2 separate regions of the Homo sapiens genome follow, and region 2 is linked to region 1. The links are contacts of gene promoters, found by promoter capture Hi-C in human tissues and cell types (Jung and others, 2019). All regions are on one chromosome and are shown on one strand. Each heading gives the region's core, a stretch centred on a gene start or on the middle of the fragment in contact. The rest is flanking DNA. Distances are from core to core; before and after follow the strand shown. Region 1 holds the start of NSUN4 (NOP2/Sun RNA methyltransferase 4). Region 2 overlaps P3R3URF-PIK3R3 (P3R3URF-PIK3R3 readthrough).

Region 1 (4,485 bases), core at 1,124-3,623:
TTGGGAGGTGGGCGGATCACCTGAGATCAGGAGTTCGAGACCAGCCTGGCCAACACGGTGAAACCCCATCTCTACTAAAAATACAAAAATTAGCCAGGCGTGGTGGTGCATGCCTGTGATAACAGCTACTCAGGAGGCTGAGGCAGAATAATTGCTTGAACCTAGGAGGCGGAGGTTGCAGTGAGCCGAGATGGCACCACTGCACTCCAGCCTGGTGACAGAGCGAAACTCCGTCAAAAAGAAAAAAAAAAAAAAGGAGTAAAACTGTATGATCATCTTAACAGAAAAAAAAAAAAAACTTAAGGAAAATCAACAACTATCATGATTTTTTAAAATCTCAGCAAACTAGGAACAGAAGGGAACTTTCTAAACCTAAGAAAGGACATCTATACACATGCAGGTACACGCACACACAAAACTACAGCTAACATCATATATAATGGTGAAGTACTAAATGCTTTCTTCTTAAGAATGGGAACAAGGCAAGGATGCCTACCATCACCACTTACATTCAACTGTGTACTGGAAGTCCTAGCCAGTGGAATAAAGCAAAGAAAAAAAAAAGGGATATAGATAGAAAAGAAAGAAGTTAAAGTGTCTTTATTTACAAAAGACATGACCATATGCATAGAAAACCTGAACAGATTTCCAAAAAGTTACCAAAAGTAATAATTGAGTTTAGGAAGGTCTCAGGATACAAGGTCAACAGAAAAAATCAATTATATTTTAATATACTAGAATTTTTCTTTTGAGACAGAGTCTCACTCTGTTGCCCAGCCTGGAGTGCAGTGGCATGATCTCAGCTCACTGCAACCTCTGCCTCCTGGTTTCAAGTTATTCTCCTGCCTCGGCCTCCCAAGTAGCTGGGATTACAGGCATGAGCCACCATGCCCAACTAATTTTTGTATTTTTAGTAGAGACTGGGTTTCACCACGTTGGCCTGGCTGGTCTCCAACTCCTGACCTCAGGTGATCCACCCACCTCGGCCTCCCAAGTGCTAGGATTACAGGAATGAGCCACAGTGCCGGCCAGCCTTTTTCTTGAAAAATGAACAAAGTGAGCCTGTCACTTCAAGGAAAATAACTGACAGTATTTGTTGCCAATAAGAAAATTCCAAAATTCCACATTCAAATGCCAAATAAGAAAAAGCTTTCGGCTGGGGGCAGCGTGAGCCACCGCGCCCGGCCAAGTTTTGTATTATTTTTCTTAACTATGTCTTCTCAAATTGCGGAAGCGTTAGGCCCCACAACATTTGACATCACCAGTAGGGATCCAGTGGAGAGGAGGGACATGATCAGAAACTGTGTTTTTAAATGATCATTCAACAGCCAATTATCAGGGTGGGTAGGAGTGAGGCAGGGAGATCAAAAGGCAGGGAGATTGGCTGGGATTACAGGCATTGTTACCAGAAAGGGGTCCCGATCCGGACCCCAAGAGAGGTTCATGGATCTCGCACAAGAAAGAATTCAGGGCGAGTCCGCAATGCAAAGTGAGAGCAAGTTTATTAAAGTACAAGAATAAAAGAATGGATAGTCCATAGATAGAGCAGCTCCAAGGGCTGCTTGCCCATTTTTATGGTTATTTCTTGATGGTACGCTAAACAAGGGGTGGGTTATTCACGCCTCCACTTTTTTTTTTTTTTTTTTTTTTTTTGAGACGGAGTCTCGCTTTGTCGCCCAGGCTGGAGTGCAGTGGCGCGATCTGGGCTCACTGCAAGCTCCGCCTCCCGGGTTCACGCCATCCCTCAGCTTCCCGAGTAGCTGGGACTGCAGGCGCCAGCAACCTCGCCCGGCTAATTTTTTGTATTTTTGGTAGAGACGGGGTTTCACCGTGTTAGCCAGGAGGGTCTCGATCTCCTGACCTCGTGATCTGCTCGCCTCGGCCTCCCAAAGTGCTGGGATTACAGGCGTGAGCCACCACGCCCGGCCAGGTCCCGAAACTTAAGCTTCATTTGTTTCACTGCAAATCTGCTTCTGCCTACAAGCCTGGTCTCATTTTCCTCTACCTAAGGATCTTCCTCCATGCAATTTCGGCCTAGGAGGCCCTTCCCGCCCCTTTTCGCCTAGCTAACTCTTTCGGTACTCAACCACCAACTCCTAATCCTCCCTGGTCCCCCAAGTGGGCTAGGGGCTTCTTGGGAGTCCCTCGCACTGCTCTAAGCATCCAGGCAGAGTCATTATTCCGGGTGCCAGGTTGCTCTTTTTCCAGCAGCCTTCAGGGGACTCCTGGCTGGGCGGAGTCTGTAGAGGCGCGCGGAGTCCTGGGAGAGCGTCAGATGTATTTCCTTTCCCTTTTTTCGCTCGTGTCCCGCCGGGTGGCGCTCACCACCTCCCCGGAACACGCGAGTCTCCTGTCGCGGTTCCGGTCGGAATTACCCCGTGGAGCACGCCGATATGGCTGCGCTGACACTGAGGGGTGTCCGGGAGCTGCTGAAGCGTGTGGACCTCGCGACGGTCCCGCGGAGACATCGATATAAGAAGAAATGGGTAAGGTCCGGCTGGGGGCGCAGGAGGGAAAAGTGAGGGTGGAAACTTCTCCAGTCTTTCCGTTTCCCGGCCCTCTAGAACGCCTAGCGTCTTTCCCAAGCACTCCACGGAACGTCCTTAGGCACCTCCCTCTCTCGTCTTTTCCGTCACCGCCTCTGTCCGCACTCTATGTCCCGAGCGTTAGTGTCTTCCACTTGTTACGTCTGCAGTCTCCTGACTCCGCCCAAGTTGCGTCATCACCTTCGCCTTCATTCTTTTAGTGATGTCACTGTCTCTTGTTCCCCAGCTGTGTCCACCTACCTTTCTGTCCCCCACTCCCCCTTTTACTTCCCTCCCTCCCCTCCCCCTTTCCCTTGCCCATTCTTCCCCCACATGACTTCTCCTTTCCTCATTGATTTTCCAGCCCGGTCGCCCTCACCCCTCGGAAAATACCATAGCGACCTTGCCTGCACTCCTGGGTCTCCGCCGCCTTGCAGGAAAGGATTCAGCCCCTTCCTCAACCTCGAGCTGCCTCTGGCGACCGGGCAAGGTTACAGCGACCACCCTGTCCATACTGCCGGCCCAAACCCTGGCAAAAGGTGCAACGAATCCTCTCATCCTCTGGACTCTCCTTGCTTCTCCAGAGACCCTTTTTCTTGCCTCACTGGAAGCCCTGGAATTTCTTCTATGACCGGCACGCCCCCCTGCCCACCCCAGCCGATTCCCTCGCCACCTCCACCATCTCTTCCACCCCCACAACCTTCCTCGCACTCAGGGAGATGGTCTTTTGAGTCCTCTTCCCCACTCCTGGAAAGGACCTACTGCCGCTAGCCCTGCCACTCGGGTTCCCCACTCTCCAGCCCTTATTTTGAGCAGTTCAGCATTCCGGGGTCACCCCCTCTCTGTCAGCGGACACCTTATTGCAGCTGGATGAGTCCCTCCAGAATGCGGCGTCCCTGTCTTCAAGGCACGTACTGTGACCAGCACACTAATCTCTGTTACTCTAGCGGATGGCCTTCAGCTTTTGGAACCAGCCCGGCAACCTCCTTTCCCCTTGCTCATCAGTCCCCGGGAACGAGCCCAGTGACCTCCCCTCAGCTCACTCATGTACCCTTGGAAACTGGACCCATGATTTCGCCTCCTCCTACACATAGGACCCCGGGAACTTGCCTCACGATTTCACCTCCTCTTGCTCGCCGGCCGGTGGAAACTAGTCCTATGGCCTCCCCAACCCTTTCTCACAGAGTTTTGGAAACTGGGCTGATGATCTCTCTGCCCTCTCACTGGTTCTCAGGGAGAAGTTATAATGACCCCCTTCTCTCCCCAGCATCTTCCCCACCTACTGGCAGCTTTTACCATGGCAGCCTTAAGCCTCTAGACTCTTGTGAACCCAAACCACAGCTTGACCTGCCCCTTGAGAAAAATTGTTGTGGCTTCCCACTCTCTTCTCAGGCAGGCATGCCTGGCTCTCCCAGCTCACCTCAGGAGGGCTCTTATCATTACTCCCATCTTTCCTCAGAGGCCTACATACCTACCCCTGGGAGTCCTTGCTATGCCATCTGCCTGTGCCCCGGGAGTACTGATTCTCCTTGCTCACCCCAGTCCCAGGCTCCCAGGAAGGCTTGCATTGAGTCCCTTCTCTCCTGGGAGGCAACTGGGAACTCTTACCTCATCCTAACCCCGGACACCACAACTTCTGGTCCCCCCTGTTCCCAGGAACCATCTCGTCCCCATGGTCCTCATTCTGTCCTTTCCTTCCCTTCACCCCTGGGCAACCAGTTTATATCTCCACCCCAGTCACTTCCCCGCAGAAGCTATAATGAACCCCCTCTTCCCACTCCAGTTTCCCCCCAACCGAAGTCCCCTAAGTCCCCAGAGTTAAGACAGTCACATACTCCCCACAAATGTCTCTCCCTAGTCAACACTCCCCAGCACACCCCTTCTGGCCAGCCCAAGCCCGCTAAGGCCCACACCTGTCCCCCACCTCCCTCCTGCCTCTCTGGTCCTTCTTGTATGCAGC
Region 2 (4,485 bases), core at 741-3,240, 200 kb before region 1:
CTCAGCCAGAAGTTCTTCGTGATTAAAGGTGCCATCTGAGCGCACAATATTTTTTTAAAAGCCTTGCAAAATGGGGCCGGGCACGGTGGCTCATGCCTGTAATCCCAGCACTTTGGGAGGCTGAGGTGGGCAGATCACGAGGTCGGGAGTTTGAGACCAGCCTGGCCCACGTGGTGAAACTCCGTCTATACTAAAAATAAAAAAATTAGCTGGGCATGTTGGCAAGCGCTTGTAATCCCAGCTACTCGGGAGGCTGAGGCAGGAGAATCATTTGAATGCAGGAGGCAGAGGTTGCAGTGAGCCGACATCACGCCATTGCACTCCAGCCTGGACAACAGGGCGAGACTCAGTCTCAAAAAAAAAAAAAAAAAAAGCCTTGCAAAATGGAAATATACTTTTTTTTTTTTTTTTTGATCACTAGCATTAGCACCAGAACTGACTTTAGACTTTGGGTAGGGATTCTACCAGCCTCAATACCTTCTTTTTCTTCTCTCACCATTTTCCCTTGACCACTTGTCTTGTGATAAGGCCCAGTCCATGCAATTAAATAAACTCATTTAACAAATATGACTCCCAGAAAGCCCTACAAATTATCAGTTGCAGATTTTTAGGGCCTCCCCAGACACTTGACTTGTAAGTAGAAGATATATCAAGTTTTGATGGAAAAGTTTGCCTTCACAATGTACAAAGAACCATGTTAGTGGATCTTCTGGAAAGACATCTCACCTGAAAATCAATAGTCATCTCTTGAGACAGCAGTGTCTAAAATCGTGATTTTCCATTTTTTCCAAATGGTATTCCTTGTATTTGGCATTTGCAATTTTTTACCTTTCCTCATCTTTCTTAGCACTTGAATACCCATGATAGAGTTAATCATTTAACCCAAGGCACTGAGAAATTATGACATTATATGAATGAGTAGACTTCATTAAAGTGGCATTCCCCTAGATGCTGCTGAATTCCAGGGCTTAGGGGACAATGTTTGAGGCCTCACTTATACACCTCAGCATGTGATGTAGATCTGCTCTGCCTCACTCTTCCCACTTTGGGTCCTCATTTAGGTTTAGGGGTAACAAAAGAAGCAAATCTCTCTAGCTTGACATCTTCCTCACTTTTGATGTCTGCCCTTGTAGTAACACAGGGGCCAACTGGATAATATGTATGCCATTGCTGCAAACTTCCCCTCCAACAAGGCAACAGATTTCAGCTCAGCTCTCACCAGGGGAGAGAGCACAAATTAGATCCAAATGGCAGGAACAATAGTCCAGGCTGTTTCAGGAGGACAGGGCACAAACAGGGCAGGCAGCTGGTGAAGCTCTGTTACCTCATTTAATCTCCATAACCCTGGGGTGGAAGGCTGTATTTTTATTCTCATTTTACAGATGAGGAAATTGAGACCCAGAGCAATGAGGGGATTTGTTCAAAGTCATGCAGTCACTAGTAGCAGAGTCAGGATTAGAGCCCCATGTCCTGACTACCAGTTCATTGCCTTTCCCGCTGCACCACACAGCCTTCCTCTCCCATTCACTCACTTAGCAAATGTTTGTTGGTGCTTCCAAACACTGAAGATACAAAAGTGAATAAGACTGAGTCCCTAACATTGAGTCCAGAATTCATAGAGGAGGGACCAACAAAGGAATAAATAATTAAAGACACAATAAGCGCTATAATCAAGAATTTGACAAAGTGTGTTGGGGGAGCCCCAAAAACAGTGCTGATCTCTAACCATGTGCAGGTGAGTAGAAGCTTCCTGGAAGAGGTGACATTTGGCTGCCCCAGACTTGCATGCACCTGCTTTAAATGTGTGGTCCTTTACTTCTCAGTTTTCGCAATTCACAATTAACTCTAAGCCTGAAAAAGTTTCGTCGAAAGCTGATTCCATTAGAAAGTGGCAAACTCCTACTTCTCTGCATCTGATCTTATACATTGTGCTCACACAGACCCCTGTGCTGGCCTCTGCACAGCCCTTGGCACACCATGTTCAAAGTGTTTGCTTCCAGTTCTCTCTCCTATCACTCTTTAGAGTTCCTCATGTTGGACAACAGTGGTTCCTCATGGTCCTTTAACCATCAATGCCCAGCCCAAGGCCTGGCACACAGTGGGTAGCCAGTGAATATTCTTCGAGCGAATAAGCAAAAGTGCAAGTAAACTCTCCAGGAAGGCTCTGGGGAGTCTAAGTTCAAATTATCCTAGTAATCCTTTCTGTAGGTATTCAGCTGACTTTGTTTATTTAAACGGAGGAAAAGAAAACCAAAAACTTGTACAGTTCTTTGGCTACAGGAACCAAGAGGGGCAGACAATGACCTTTCCCTCCCTCTGGCTGACCCTAGGGTCTTCACCACAGACGCTGAGTTCCGCTGCCCTTTTATTTTATCAGCTGTGAATTGTTTGCAAAATTCCAAGCAGTTTGTAGGAAATTCAGGAAAATTCAGCAGCTAGAAGAGAAACTGGTTTCATTTTCCAGCTCAGCTTTTTTCTGAAATATAACACCATATAGGGCTTTAAAGCATGCTCACTTCCTGTGGTCATTATTTCAATAGCTTTGAGCAACTTGTAGTTTATGCCTTCTTTCTGGAATGTCCAATAATTGCCCTGTAATTCCACAGGTCTCAAATCTAAAAACCATTTTATACGTTTCATTGTTAGAGGGCAATATCAGTCCAGTTCCCTTATTGGATAATTTTGGTTTAAAAAGATAAAAAGACCAGGCATGGTGGCTCACGCCCATAATCCTAACACTTTGGGAGGCTGAGGCAGGAGGATCACTTGAGCTCAGGAGTTCAAGACCAGCCTGAGTAGCATATGGAGATCCCTGTCTCTACAAAATTAAAAAAATCAGCTAGGTGTGGTGGTGTGCTCCTGTAGTCCCAGCTACTTGGGAGGCTGAGGCCAGAGGATCGCTTTAGCCCAGAAGGTCAAGGCTGCAGTGAGCCAAGATAGTGCCACTGCTCCCAGCCTGGGCACAGAGTGAGACCTTGTCTCAAAAACAAAGTCCTGCAGCCTCCCCAAACACTTCTGCAGGGGCATCATTCTTGAAATCTGGGAAAATGGTGTGACTTCTAGGGTTTAAAGATCACCACTTGGGTAAGAAAGTATAAGCATGGAATGTAAAAGGCATGAACATGATTGTTTGTGTCCTCAGCTTTGAGCATTTGATTGAAAATGATACACTTACAGTGATTTTCTTCCAGGGTAGAGGCTACCTTCCATTCTGCTCATCTTACACTTCTTGGAAAGGAGACATTCGGTGAAGATCACTACTATTCTCCAAACTTCATTCGGGACCCTATTCCTTCCCTGTTGATGTCAGTGTGTGAAATTCTAAATTATGTCATGGGTGTATACGTTCAAAAGCAATATATTTTCAAATAAACAAAAAATATAATTGGCCATCACATATACCAAATATGCAATATGATAATTGTGCCTAAAGTAGATTAATTAAATGTTAATGGTAAACAGGAAGAACAGTTCAAAATGACAAGCTCTTTCAGTTTAATTCAACTGAGTCCCTCCCGTGGGTCAGATCTTTTGCTCAGTACCCCATAAGACACTATTTCTGCCCTTTATGAACCCACCACCTACTAAGGGAGACTTATGAGAACACTTTTGCTGACCCACGTGCTTCTTTTTTTTTTTTTCTTTTTGAGACGGAGTTTCACTCTTGCTGCCCAGGCTGGAGTACAATGGCATGATCTGGGCTCACTGGAACCTCTGCCTCCCCGGTTCAAGCAATTCTCCTGCCTCAGCCTCCTGAGAAGCTGGGATTACAGGTGCCCACCACCATGCCTGGCTAATTTTTTCTATTTTTAGTAGAGATGGGGTTTCACCATGTTGACCAGGCTGGTCTTGAACTCCTGACCTCAGGGGATCCACCCACCTTGGCCTACCAAAGTGCTGGGATTACAGGCATGTGCCACTGTGCCCGGCCTTACCCATGTGCTTCTAAACGGACTAACTCTCCCTAAGACCATAAGATCAGGACAAGAGAATTCCCATCCTCCTCGTCTTTCCTCTTCAACAGCCTTACACTCTTTCTCAGCTTCTTCCTGGCATCCTCGACTGCTGAGTATTAACCTCACACTTCTCACTGATTCTGTTCTTGCAGCATTGACTTCTGACTCTGTTCCCTAAATACAACTCACACATACCACTTGGATCCTATCTTCTTTTCCAAGACAATGGAGGAATCTAGCTCAGTATCCTACCCTGACATAGGGGCATGTGGTTGGTGTTTCTGCTGAGTTTCCCAGGACCCTGCAAACAAGAACCAGACAAATCTGTCATACCTATGAACTGCTCCCCATCTGAAATTTTTTTGAGGGACAAGAGGAATGGCGTCTCGCTCTGTCACCCAAGCTGGAATGCACTGGTGTGATCATGGCCCACTGCAGCCTTGACCTCCTGGGCTCAAGCAATCCTCCTGCTTCAGCCTCCCGAGTAGCTGGGACCACAGATGCACACCACCATGCCTGGCTAATTTTT

What was found. Contacts are between HindIII fragments. The study calls those that stand out against the background at their distance.
Region 2: a contact is called between a fragment that was not itself captured here and the fragment with the promoter of NSUN4 in region 1, in 1 of the 25 tissues and cell types used here (aorta).

What each region holds. Positions count from the first base shown.
Region 1 is chr1:46,338,434-46,342,918 of GRCh38, forward strand. NSUN4 (NOP2/Sun RNA methyltransferase 4) reads left to right here and starts at 2,374. Exons shown (of 6, transcript NM_199044.4): 1 at 2,374-2,486. The coding sequence starts at 2,394. RefSeq lists enhancers at 775-1,574, 2,235-2,444, 3,572-3,661. The HindIII fragment of the contact is 4,996 bases long and covers 1-3,983 here.
Region 2 is chr1:46,135,676-46,140,160 of GRCh38, forward strand. The region is part of intron 1 of P3R3URF-PIK3R3 (P3R3URF-PIK3R3 readthrough); the gene reads right to left. LOC101929626 (a long non-coding RNA gene) reads left to right here. Exons shown (of 3, transcript NR_125987.1): 3 at 3,192-3,406. It also overlaps a transcript of PIK3R3 not described here. Among named protein-coding and RNA genes, the nearest start is that of PIK3R3, 5.3 kb to the left of the region's middle. The HindIII fragment of the contact is 9,955 bases long and covers 1-4,485 here.